2 separate regions of the Homo sapiens genome follow, and region 1 is linked to region 2. Evidence: promoter capture Hi-C in human tissues and cell types (Jung and others, 2019). All regions are on one chromosome and are shown on one strand. The core of a region is centred on a gene start or on the middle of the fragment in contact, and the rest is flanking DNA. Distances in the headings are between cores, read along the strand shown.

What was found. The method cuts DNA at HindIII sites, captures the fragments that hold promoters and counts their contacts. A contact is called where the count stands out against the background at its distance.
Region 1: a fragment that was not itself captured here is called in contact with the fragment with the promoter of CRABP1 in region 2 in 1 of the 25 tissues and cell types used here (adrenal gland).

What each region holds. Positions count from the first base shown.
Region 1 is chr15:78,288,690-78,294,529 of GRCh38, reverse strand. SKIC8 (SKI8 subunit of superkiller complex) reads left to right here. Exons shown (of 11, transcript NM_025234.3): 4 at 1,258-1,363; 5 at 1,742-1,914; 6 at 4,431-4,579; 7 at 4,818-4,911. Among named protein-coding and RNA genes, the nearest start is that of SKIC8, 8.0 kb to the left of the region's middle. The HindIII fragment of the contact is 3,347 bases long and covers 2,730-5,840 here.
Region 2 is chr15:78,338,329-78,344,725 of GRCh38, reverse strand. CRABP1 (cellular retinoic acid binding protein 1) reads right to left here and starts at 4,373. Exons shown (of 4, transcript NM_004378.3): 1 at 4,228-4,373; 2 at 3,505-3,683; 3 at 1,114-1,227. The coding sequence starts at 4,297. RefSeq lists an enhancer at 4,195-4,823. The HindIII fragment of the contact is 13,960 bases long and covers 1-6,397 here.

The sequences.
Region 1 (5,840 bases), core at 3,154-5,653, 50 kb after region 2:
TAGTGAAATGAGTTTCTCTTGAGGCCACCGAGTGCATGGGGAGGGCTGGGAGCTGTGCAGCAGTGGCAGTGGCAGGGATGGGAGAGCAGGTGGCAGGTCAGAGTGGGCTGGGATTGTAACTGACCAGTGGTACAGAGCTTTGTACCCAAAAAGGAGCCATGTTTGTGCATGGGCTACTCACCCATCTCATTTCTTCACTATAGCCTCGATGAGTTTGAGAAGGCCTAAGGAATTTGTGGAATGCCTAATAAAAGCTCTTGCTCTCTAAGTAGGTGACATGGAGGTAGTTTGACGTTTAAGCCAAAAGCATCATTCAGGTTAGCTAGTGTAAGTAACTAGTAGGCTAATTGGGCATGCCAGTCAACTACCTTATATGTAGCTATTGTCATCCAGGTGGCAAGTTAGCAGGCTTGAGTTAGGTGAGGTTTGAAATGGAAGCCACAACGCTGTCTGTGGTGCACAGCTGTTTTAAGTTTAATGCCTTTATATTCATATTTTGGGAAGGTATCGCTGGAGAATTGTTGCCAGGCAGGGGTAAAGCCTCCATGTGCACTTGTCACGTTTTTACATCCACACTGGGTCTGCACATACAACAGCATGGCCTACCAAATATGCAGCTTACAGACTTAGACTTAAGGTAGACTTTAATTAATAGAGATTGGATTTGAATCCTAGCACCTCTCATTCCTTGTCTATAAAATGAGGATATTAATAGTACCCACTTCATAGGATTGTTGTAATGTAATAATTGGCCCATTAACCATAATAAAGATACTTGTGGGGAAAGGCAACTTAATATATGGAGGCTATAGTAGGTATTTTCTTTTAGATCTATACTGTTTAGAATTGAACTGCCTGCTTGTTTCGAAAGATCTTTTCGGAGTATCTGTTACCGGGTTTAGGCCTTTTCTTGGTAGGAGGGGGTCTTCCCCACTGGTTTTACTTGTTTTTAGCCAAGTGATAGCCATTGTAGACTCCTATATACCAGATAGCATGCTAAAAGAAAGGACACTGGATTTAGAGTCCGAAGTACTACCTTGTCGCCTGGTAAACATGAGATTTAGGGCAAGTAGCTTCTTCAGAACCTCCAATTTTCATATGTGGCCCCAAAATTTCAATAAAAGCTGTATAGGAAAGCACTTTGTAAAATAGTAAAGCAAATACAAATAAATGTTACCTCACAATTGTTGAACAGTATCTCGGCTTCATTAAGTCGTATGCAAGAAGACTTTATAAATGAAGCACTTTCCATTCTAGCCCATGATGATGCCATTTGGTCAGTTGCTTGGGGGACAAACAAGAAGGAAAACTCTGAGACAGTGGTCACAGGCTCCCTAGATGACCTGGTGAAGGTCTGGAAATGGTGAGTGCCTCTCCCCTAACATACAGCCTTGGAAAATTGGGGGCTGAGGTTTTGCTTCTGAACTCTCCAGTTGCAGTCCGGGAAATACTTTTTTCTAGGCAAGAAAGCAATAGCAATATGGTGGTATAAAACAGCAGCTTATTTTTCCCACTTGTTTTCCTGTTACTCTGTATTAAAGCCCTAAAGTTAAAAAAAAAAAATCTTAAAGTCCTACATTTAAAACCTGGCAGCATTTGGTGTTCTGTAGCTCATTAACTCTTCTCTGATTCTGTATTTCATAGACCATTGGTATTGCATAGTCACAGGGACCCAGAATTTCAGATGCCAGGTAAAGTGTGTTCTTTGTGAAGAAATCCATTTCTCTGTCCCCTGTTGAAGGCGTGATGAGAGGCTGGACCTACAGTGGAGTCTGGAGGGACATCAGCTGGGAGTGGTGTCTGTGGACATCAGCCACACCCTGCCCATTGCTGCATCCAGCTCTCTTGATGCTCATATTCGTCTTTGGGACTTGGAAAATGGCAAACAGATAAAGTCCATAGATGCAGGACCTGGTAAGAGTTTTACTTGTAGGGGAGATAATAGAGGTTCATGATTTCTTTTCCAAAATCTTTAGGGATAGAATGTGTTTTACAGCTCAGAATTTTTTGGATTTGAGAGGGGTGATAATGTGTGCATGAACTGTATTTCACATAATACCCTCAGTGGGGCTGGAAACAGCACTGTAATGAAAGACTAATACCTCTGCAAGTAAACATGAATGTTTACACTAAGGGAGATAAATAAAGGCTATAAATAGCCTTATGTCAATTCAGGTTAGATTTTGCTGCCAAATGAATTTTGGTAGTAAACCTGTAGAAAAAGCTTGTAGTTTCCAGAGCTTTTTGGATTTCAAAACTGCTGGTTTGGCGTTGACCTGTATTTTGCATTTTCCAGAGGTTCTTTATTTGCCATATTCTGAACTGATTCATTCACTGCCTTACGGAAACCTAGAATGTAAAGCATGGGGTCCTTATAGATCTGTATCATGGTCATCTCTACTAATTTTGATTAAAGGGTGTGATTCTTGGTATGTGATACATATGAAACTTTTAAGAAACATCAATTTTTTTTGTTTTAAGTACTGTAGAACAGCATAATCTTGTCCATCAGCCTCAGTAAACATCATCTGAGATGACAGAAATTAATGATGTCATAGGCTGACTAATGTGGAGCAGCAGAGGACATTTCAGGATTCTTTTGAACTTCACATTTACTTATAAATGGCTGCACAACATTCCCCAGCAGAACCTGCTCTGCCAGAATGGGTGGTAACTGCTAGAGGGTGCAGATAGCCTGGCATTTCTCTGGCACACCCCTTTTTGGGTTGATGATAGAAGAGCTGCTTAGGTGTTCCATGAACACAGTTCCCTTGATTGGTGCCCTGGATGGATTCGCCTCCCGCCAGTTATGCTCAGTAGCCACTCTAGGCTGTTCCTGTATTGGAAAGAATGATGGTCCCAGAGTTTTTAAAGAGGCTGGGTTGTCTGGAAACTGAGTGCATTTTCCCTCAGAAGCAATATTTCTTGTCTGTAATTCTTACCACTGGAGCTCTTTTAAGAATATGCCTGCCCAGTCCATATTTTGGATCCACTGAATCATAGTGTTCAGAGTACGTGGGGTGGGATATGTATTTGGAAAAAGCTACCCAGACGCACCCTGACTCCCCTGATGGTTGTCTTTACATGTACCCTTACCCTGCTTACATTACTTACAGAGGACTTGGGTCCCCAAACTATCCTGCAAAGTCTATTAAGACTCCAATATATAAGCATGGTCTTAAGAAAAGAGGAAGAGACAGAACTGTTTCTACCTTTTCATCTTGGGCGCCTAAGCTTTCCCTGGGCTCATAATGCTGGTGTTATTCCATGCTGGTTGTAGCCCTGGGCACAAGGCAGCTGAAGAAATCAGTGCTGGATTGGTTCCAAGTAAAAGGATGGCGTATGTATCTAGCTCACTTTCTCTGATAAACAGTACCTTTTACTGGATATTCTCCAAGTGTGGCAAAGTTTTAAAGGTTACTGTTATGAAAGAAAAAGAAGAGGCCAGGTGTGGTGGCTCACACCTGTAATCCCAACACTTTGTGGGGCTGAGGCGGGTGGATTACTTGAGGTCAGGAATTCAAGATCAGCCTGACCAATATGGTGAAACCCTGTCTCTACTAAAAAATACAAAAAATTAGCTGGACATGGTTGTGTGCACCTGTAGTCCCAGCTACTCAGGAAGCTGAGGCAAGAGAATAGCTTGAACTCGAGATTATGCCACCGTACTCCAGCCTAGGTGACAGAGCAAGACTCAATCTCAAAAAAAAAAAGGAAGAATGGGGTCTGAGAGTTGGATTTATTTTCTTTTTGGATAGGACTCTGCATAAAACTAGACCAGGCCATTAAACAGCCAACAGTTATTTGGTCCAGTAACAAAAGCAAGCATTGCTATTGACAGCTAAAGAGCAGCTAAATTCATCTGAAGGTAAAACTCCTTGGATGAATTTGGGTCTAATGAATGTAGGGAAAATAGACACTTAGTTTCTACCTATCTTGAAAATATGCATGGAGAATCTGAACCACCACACAGGAAGAGAAAAAGAGAAGAGAGACAATCCCCAGTCGTGGAGAAGTAAGGAAGTAGGAGGAAGCGAAGACCATGAGTGTACCAGTCTTTGTGTGGACATATGTTTTCATTAGGAGTAGAATTGCTGAGTATCATGGTAAGTGTTTGTTTTCACTTAAGAAACTGTCAAACTGGTTTTCAAAGTGGCTGTGCCGTTTTACATTCCCACCAGTGTATGAAGGCTCTGGTTTCTCCACATCCTTGCTAACACTTGATATTGTCCTATTTTAATTAAAAATTTAAGAAACCCTTAAACTAAATTTAAACTTGATAAAGAATTAGCATCTTTACAACATAATTTTCTGAATCAGGACACTGCTACTCCGATTTAAAAAGATGTATCCTTTGGTAAAACTTTAGTTTTTAAAATTAAGGCCAAGTCTTTTCACACTGTATTTTTGTCCTTCTTTTTTCTGTTCAGTGGATGCCTGGACTTTGGCCTTTTCTCCTGATTCCCAGTATCTGGCCACAGGAACTCATGTCGGGAAAGTGAACATTTTTGGTGTGGAAAGTGGGAAAAAGGAATATTCTTTGGACACGAGAGGAAAATTCATTCTTAGTATTGCATATGTAAGGAAACATTGCTCTCTGTTCTCCTTCTGATTCTTTCAGTTTACCCTTCCAGCCTGTTGCAGTCCTTGCCACAGATTCTGTCTTGGTCTGGTCAGGCAGCTGCTGTCTCACTGGTGTGGTTTGCCAAGTAGCCAGTTAGACCTGTAGATAGCAGGAGGTTTGCTTGTGTTTGGTAGGGACAGCTTAACAACACGGAGTCTGAAAGTGCTAATTTCTCCATATGTTCTCTGAACAGAGTCCTGATGGGAAATACCTAGCCAGTGGAGCCATAGATGGAATCATCAATATTTTTGATATTGCAACTGGAAAACTTCTGCATACCCTGGAAGGTATATATCATCATCTTATTTTGACAAACTGGGTTATCAAATCACAAAGGAAGAATTATTCTTTCATTGAAATGCCATTAAATGGCAAATGGGCATTAGATTTACAAAATATCAATCTCAATTGGAAAACTGAAATGCCTCCAGGTTTTAGTCTTGTCACTATAGTTTTTTTTGTTTTTTTGTTTTTTTGTTTGTTTGTTTGTTTTCTTTTAGAGACAGGGTCTCGCTCCCAGGCTGGAGTGCAGTGGTGTGATCATAGCTCACTGTAACCTTGAACTCCTGGGCTCAAGGGATCGTCCCACCTCAGCCTCCTGGGTAGCTGGGACTACAGGTGCACACCACGATGTCTGGCTAGTTTTTAAAATTTTTGAGGAGATGGGGTCTTGCTGTTTCCCAGACTGGTCTCTAACTCCTGGCTTCAAGATTTCTTCCTGCTTTGGCCTCCCAAAGTGCTGGGATTACAGACATGAGCCACCATACCTGGCCTGTCACTATAGATTTAACCTAGACATACTAGTTCTTGTAACAGTGTTAAGTGCTTGTTTGGGTGAACAGACTTACTTTTTATTTATTATATCGTAATCTATCACATTATGTATGTGTGTGTTAATATATATTTGCTATATGAATGTCTCATTTCTGTTATTTTGGATTCTGATGAACTTTGTGATTGGAAACAACTTTTTGTTGATAATTTGAAGGTGGATGAAAGTATTGTGCCCACTGTCCACACCGGTGGCCTCTGGAAAGGAGGACTGGGTAGCTAAAGAACAGGGGTAGGTTGGAGGGAGACTTTATTATGCGTACTGTTGTGCTGTTTTGAATTCTAATCAAGTGAATTTATTACGTCCTCACATTGCTATAGTTTATCCTTTATACTATAATAAAGGATTTGATAGGGAAATAATACCTTAATTTGTTCAACCTTA
Region 2 (6,397 bases), core at 3,124-5,623:
TGCCCAGGCTGTTCTCAAACTCCTGGGCTCAGCCTCCCAAAGTGCTGGGATTACAGGTGTGAGCCACCAATCCCAGCCCAGTTTTGTAACACAAAGGGAGAGCGAGGGGGATTGTTCTGCCCTCAGCCTTCCTTTGTTCTCTACCTAAAAAAAGGGGAGGAAGTGTGTGCTTAAATTATAGAGGTTTCTAATTTGGCCTCACTAGGTAAGTTTTGTTTGGCTAGGAGCAGGTGTTTAAAATGTTTTCGTCTGAATACTTTTTTTTTTTTAGAGACAGAGTCTCTGTCGCCCAGGCTGGAGTGCAGTGGTGCCATCTCAGCTCACTGCAACCTCCGCCTCCTGGGTTCAAGTGAATCTCCTGCCTCAGCTTCCCGAGTAGCTGGGATTACAGGCATATGCCACCACGCCCGGCTAATTTTGTATTTTTAGTAGAGACGGGGTTTCTCCATATTGATCAGGCTGGTCTCAAACTTGCAACCTCAGGTGATCCACCCGCTTTGGCCCCCCAGAATGCTGGGATCTGAATACTTTTAAGGAAAAGCCTATCTTTTTTAGTTCTACAGGGGCTCATCTCTCCACACTGTGTTATACTCAGACACTTCCCAAATTAGCATTCATTGCCTGGCTCCCAAAGGCCATTGGAGTTTGCAAATCACAGCTAAAAATGTTCTCTAAGGTTCTGAGTGCTGATGTGATAAAAATTACTGAAACCTTTTCCAGCCAGCAAAAGGGGGAATGAGAATGAAAAAAAATCCCTTCTGCCATGTGAGCGTGGGGACCTCATAGAGCCTAAGCATTCCAAGCCTGATGAGAGGGGAGCTTGGCTTAAAGCATGTCACCGCCACTGGGATGTATTAGTGTGGATAGTGGCAGGCACTCCAGCCTGTCTCCAGCCCCTATTCCATCCTCTGAGCCACTCCTCTTTCCTGCCAACCATTTAACAATGATTTCCTCTGACCTGAACTGTCATCTCGGGTTTTCTGCTCTAATTTTAATCCAGGGCAAATGGTGTCTTTCTCTGAACGGCCGAGTGAGGAGGACATATTTGTGGGGCCCATCTGGGGCCCCCTCTGGGGGAACTTCAGGATTATTTCAGGGTCAAGGGTTCCCTACCAGGATAAGTTCATCGTTGGCCAGCTCACGGGTCCAGTAGGTTTTGGGGCCGTCCCCTTCAAGAAGAGTTTGCGTGCAGTGGATCTTGTTCTCATTCTCCCAAGTGGCTAAACTCTGCAGGCGGGAAAACCATTAGTGACATTAATTAGAGTCTCAGCAGCGGGAGCAGGGACAACAATGAGCATTGAAAAATAATTGCTCTGCAGAGAATCAACACATGGTCCCTGTCAGCAGGCCACAGATTCTTCTCCGCTGAGCCTTATAAAGTCCAAATTCAGAGTGCTGGTCACAGATTTTATGGGGTATAAATACACCTTGTATAACACACACACACACTCACAAGCACACACAAACAATCTCTTACTGAAGCAGCGAGGCCTTAGGCATGCTTTACATCTCTAGGAATAAAATTTAGAGCATGAAATGATTCATTTATATAAAAATTAGCTAACCCTTCAAACAATTTGGATTTTATTTATTTTTATTCATTTTTTTTTTGAGATGGAGTCTCGCTCTGTTGCCCAGGCTGGAGTGCAGTGGCACAATCTTGGCTCCTTACAACCTCCACCTCCCAGGTTCAAGCAATTCTCCTGTCTCAGCCTCCTGAGTAGCTGGGATGACAGGTGCCTGCCACCACGCCCAGCTAATTTTTTTGGTATATTTAGTACAGATGGGGTTTCACCAGGCTGGTCTCGAACTCCTGACCTCAGGTGAACATAATTTGGATTTTAAAAGCAAGAACCTTCACATCAGAACCACAAGATTTGACAACAGTTAAGACACCAAGTTTGTAACCACATCTGTCATCAGCCTATCAGGAGCACGATTCCCTGCATGGATTTTGGGATAGGAACGTCCTTTCTGTTCACTCCTCATCAGATTTAGTGCACCCCTGCACTGATAAACCTCGGTGTCTTTGGCTCTGAGGGTTAAAATGCTGCCACTTTCCCGGTTACATCCCTTTAGAAAAAATTTAAAAAGCAAATCAATCTGAAGGCTCTTCATGCTTTTGGAGGTGGGAGGCAAAAGGAGGGATTTCCTGAAGTTTTTCCCCAGTGTCTGCACAAAGCTAAGTGTGGTACAGCTGGGCTGGGGGGTGGGCCAGAGCTGAATGTGCACATAATCAGTTTTTAACTAACACATGGGACACATTCATTAGGCAAGGTGTGGGGGGATGGGGGGTGCATAAAGCCCCACTCTCCCGGCTGTTGTGTGAACCTTTAATTTTTTTTTTTTAAATCAGAATTACCCTTCCTGGCAGTAGCCAACATTGGATGTCCCCAGACTGAGCCCTGCCTATTGCCAAGCCTCCTCTCTTAGACTCCCAGCCCTTCACTCTATGCTGTCCTGCTCTTTGTTTCTGCAGTGCAGTTTAGGCTTCAGATCCCACCCCCTCCAAGCGTGGAGATCATTTCCAGGCTATGACAATTCTGGAGCCAAAGATTGCCTCCTAGATCAGCCTGCTTCTGGGGGGCTTTGTTTCTTTGTCCTTCCAAGCCCGGTGCTCAGAGAGTCCCATTCCGAGATCAGACCAGGCACTGCTCAGGAAAGGTGAAAGAAACAATTTCCCACTCTCTGGAATGTTACGACTTTTTTCTTTAAAAAAAAAAAATTGGAGAAGGGGAGGGAGACATTCTGTCACTTTTTAAATAAGTGGTAGCACCGGTGATTATTTTTCCATCTGGTTAACCAAATGCAATTTTTGCCCATGCAAAAAACGAATGTACAACCCCTTGCTTCAATCCACCGGTTCATCCCTGGGCCGATGCATGGAGAAATAAAAAAAAACTCTTGCCCTTGAGGACTAAGAGAGGGCAACTAGTCCATTTTCCCAGCCAGAACCTGCCTTGCTTTTGGAAAGACTCCGCCGTTCCTTTAAGGAACCAGGCCGAAGGCGGGAAGGGAGAGGTGACGGGGCCATCGGGACTGCTAAAACTGTATCCAGAGCGTACCCAGGCGGCCCAGGGACCCGGGCGGGCGCGGGGGATACGGCGGGAAAGGAATGCAAGAGCTGCGGCTTCACCTGCGACAGAGAACCTGGCGGCTCCTGCAACCTCCTCCTCCTCCTGCGCCGCCTGCGCTTGGCGCTGCAAACCGCTGCAAAAGCCACTGCTGGGAACGCGGCGCAACCCAGAGCCCGCTCTTTAAGCGCGGCTGTTAGCACCCCGGGAGGCAGCGTAGGGATGGGGTTGAGATGGAATGAAGGTAATACTTTGTCTTGAGCCAGGGGCAACTAGGATGCACAAACCCCCTCTGCAAACAGCCAGTGTACACACCCTGCAAGGAAGGCGCGCCACAGGCTGCAAAGGGAGACACAGGTTCCTCCAGCAGCAGTGGGCCATGGGCACCGAGCGGGGACACGGGGACGCTGTAGTGGCTCTGGGGCCTCACCCTGCACTTGCGTCCGTCCACGGTCTCCTCCTCAAAGCCTTCTCCGACCTTGAAGTTGATCTCAGTGGTGCGCACCGTGGTGGATGTCTTGATGTAGAACTGATCCCCGTCCTGGCGGATCTCCACGTGCGGCTTGGACGCAGCCGCTACGGCCACTTTCCTCAGCATGGCGTTCACACCTGCGCAGGGTGCACCACAGGCTTGGGTCACGGGGCCTCGCCGCCAGTCTCGGGACCGGTCGGGCACTGGTCATACCCTAACTTTAGAAAGGGGCCTTAAAATTGATCCACTCGTTTCCCTGCCCTCGCCCTTGTTTTCGAGATGAGAGACTGAGGCACAGAGAGGGTAAGTGACTTTCCTCGAGTTGCACAGTGAATTCGTGGCAGAGCCTGGTCCCAAATTTGAGTCTCCAAATTTAAGTCCCTGATCCTCCTTGCTCTCCAGTAATCTCTCCTCGCTATGATCTAGCACGAGATAAAGTCCGCACCATCGAGGAGGGCGCCAAACATTCAGCAAACGTTCGCTGAACGCGTGGGTTCCGGGATCTCTACCAGCTTCTCCGAGACCCGGTGCGCCTGGGAGACAAGGCGATCTATTGCCCCGGGGACTCCCTCCTGCCTGGGCTCCCCAACTTCCACCCCCTCCAGGACCGGGGCACTTCCGGGACCAGGGCACCTCCGGGCCGCATCTCCCCGTCGGGGCGCGCCCTCTGCACCAGCTTACCCAGTGCCTTGAGCAGCTCGTCGAAATTCTCGCTGCTGCGCATCTTCCAGGTGCCGGCGAAGTTGGGCATGGTGGCGGTGGCGGCGGCGGCAGGTACGGACAGCGGCGGCGCAGCGGGCACACTCTGAGCTCGCAAGGCGGAGACTGGCGCTTTGCGCCCAGCGCTGCGCGCCTTGAGTCACTAGGAGAGCGCCCCCAACCCCGCCGGGCTTCTGGCCCCGCCCCGCCGGCCCTGCCCCCGCTCCCCCGCAGCCCCTACTCGGTATGCGCTCAACTCCCAGCCCAGTTGTGCCTCAGCCTCCAGAGGTGCGGGCACCCGCTCTCCAACTGGGGAGCCTCCACCTCCCTCAGGACACCCACATCCCGCTTTAAAATGGGTGGTGGGAGAGGGTTAGCTGAAACAAGATGGGCTTGGAGGGGATAACTGTTGAAGCTGGGCGGTGTGGACTTGGGTTATGATTCTACTTTTCTCTCTACTTTTGAATATGTTTGAAAATATCCATAACATAAACTTAAAGTGGATAGCGAGCGGGGCCATCAGGGGATGGGACCCACTCTTTTTTCACCTCCGGTCGTACCTACTGGGTGTGCCCAGATGGTGTCCCTTCCCTCCCAGTCCGGGATCCTATTCTGAAACCCTCTCCCCGCATCCCCACGCCCCCCACAGGACCCATGGGGAGTGAGTGGCAGGAAACCGCAACCCCCATCAACACCAGCTTGGGCACTGAGGCGCGAATCCACGAGCTGCGGGTCCTCCGCGTTCCGAGTGCAGGAGGGGGCCAGACCTTTGTCAGGGCTCAGGACAAACTGTGGGTCGAGAGGCATGGACTGAATCAGCTCCAGAATCTGGGCTAGGTGCGGCCTGTTTTGCAAAAGCGTGAGGCTTTGCACTCTTCGGGCAGGCTGTGAGGGCCAAGGGGAGGAAGTCTTCTCCCTTTGCTCCCAAATAACCTAAACATCACGACCTAAAGTCCCCTCGGTGTTTCCACTAAGGGAGTACAAACACTTCACTATTACCCTTGTAGCTCTTCTCTGTACATTTTCCTTCCAGCTTTTTCCCACTATTTTACCATCTGCACACCTCAGCCAAACTGTACAATTCAGGATTCTAGAACGTGCCATGCATTTTATTATCTCTAAGTTTTTGCCCATGCCATGGCTTCTTCCTTGAATGCCCCTTTCCTCATCGGGTTAATCAAATCTTGCCCATTCACGAAAGCCCATCTTTATGCTCTCTCTTTTGTGAAATTCAGTTTCCTAATAAACTGTGATTATTTTTCTCTGAATTGACAGGATTCTTGTCCGGTCCTGCTCTTGTTCAAGTCTTCGCTCTGCTATAAACTGAACTCCTGGAGGGCAGTGATCGTTTATCCACTTGTCCTCCCTTCCTAAGGCTTAGCCAGGTGGGGCTCGATAACTGTGCATTGATTTGAGGAGGATGTGAGTGGTGGCCTGGGGTGAAGATTCCCCCAGGACCTTGGGGAATCTGTGCTGAGTGCCTACTGAACAGGGCCCTGGAAACTTCTGGAGGTGGCTGGGGCTGGGTTGCTGCCAGGAGGCTCCGAGGATCTGTCTAAGAAAGCAGCTGAGGACAGGAGAGGGGAGTGGGGCCATCACCAGCTGGAAAGGGGCATGGGCAGGGCCGGCATTCTGGACGTGCCGTCTGTGCAGTCACACAGGGCCATGCACTTAGAAGGGCCTGATAGTTAGATTGGAAAATGGAAAAGCAGGAATGCTCTGCTATTGCCAGCTTGAACGTCAGAATACTTTTTGTTTGTTTGTTTGTTTTGAGACAGAGTCTCGCTCTGTTGCCCGAGCTGGAGTGCAGTGGCGCAATCTTGGCTCACTGCAACCTCTGCCTCCTGGGTTTAAATGATTCTCCTGGCTCAGCCTCCCAAGTAGCTGGGACTACAGGTGTGTGCTACTATGCCCAGCTAATTTTTTGTATTTTTAGTAGAGACAGGGTTTCACTGTGTTAGCCAGGATAGTCTCGATCTCCTGACCTCGTGATCCGCCCTCCTCGGCCTCCCAAAGTGCTGGGATTACAGGCATGAGCCACCGTGCCTGGCCCCATAATACTTTTTGAACAAGGAGTCCTGAATTTTTATTTTGCACTGGGATCTGCAAATTAAGTAGCAGGTCCTGGATGTGGGAGGCAAGGGATGGAGCT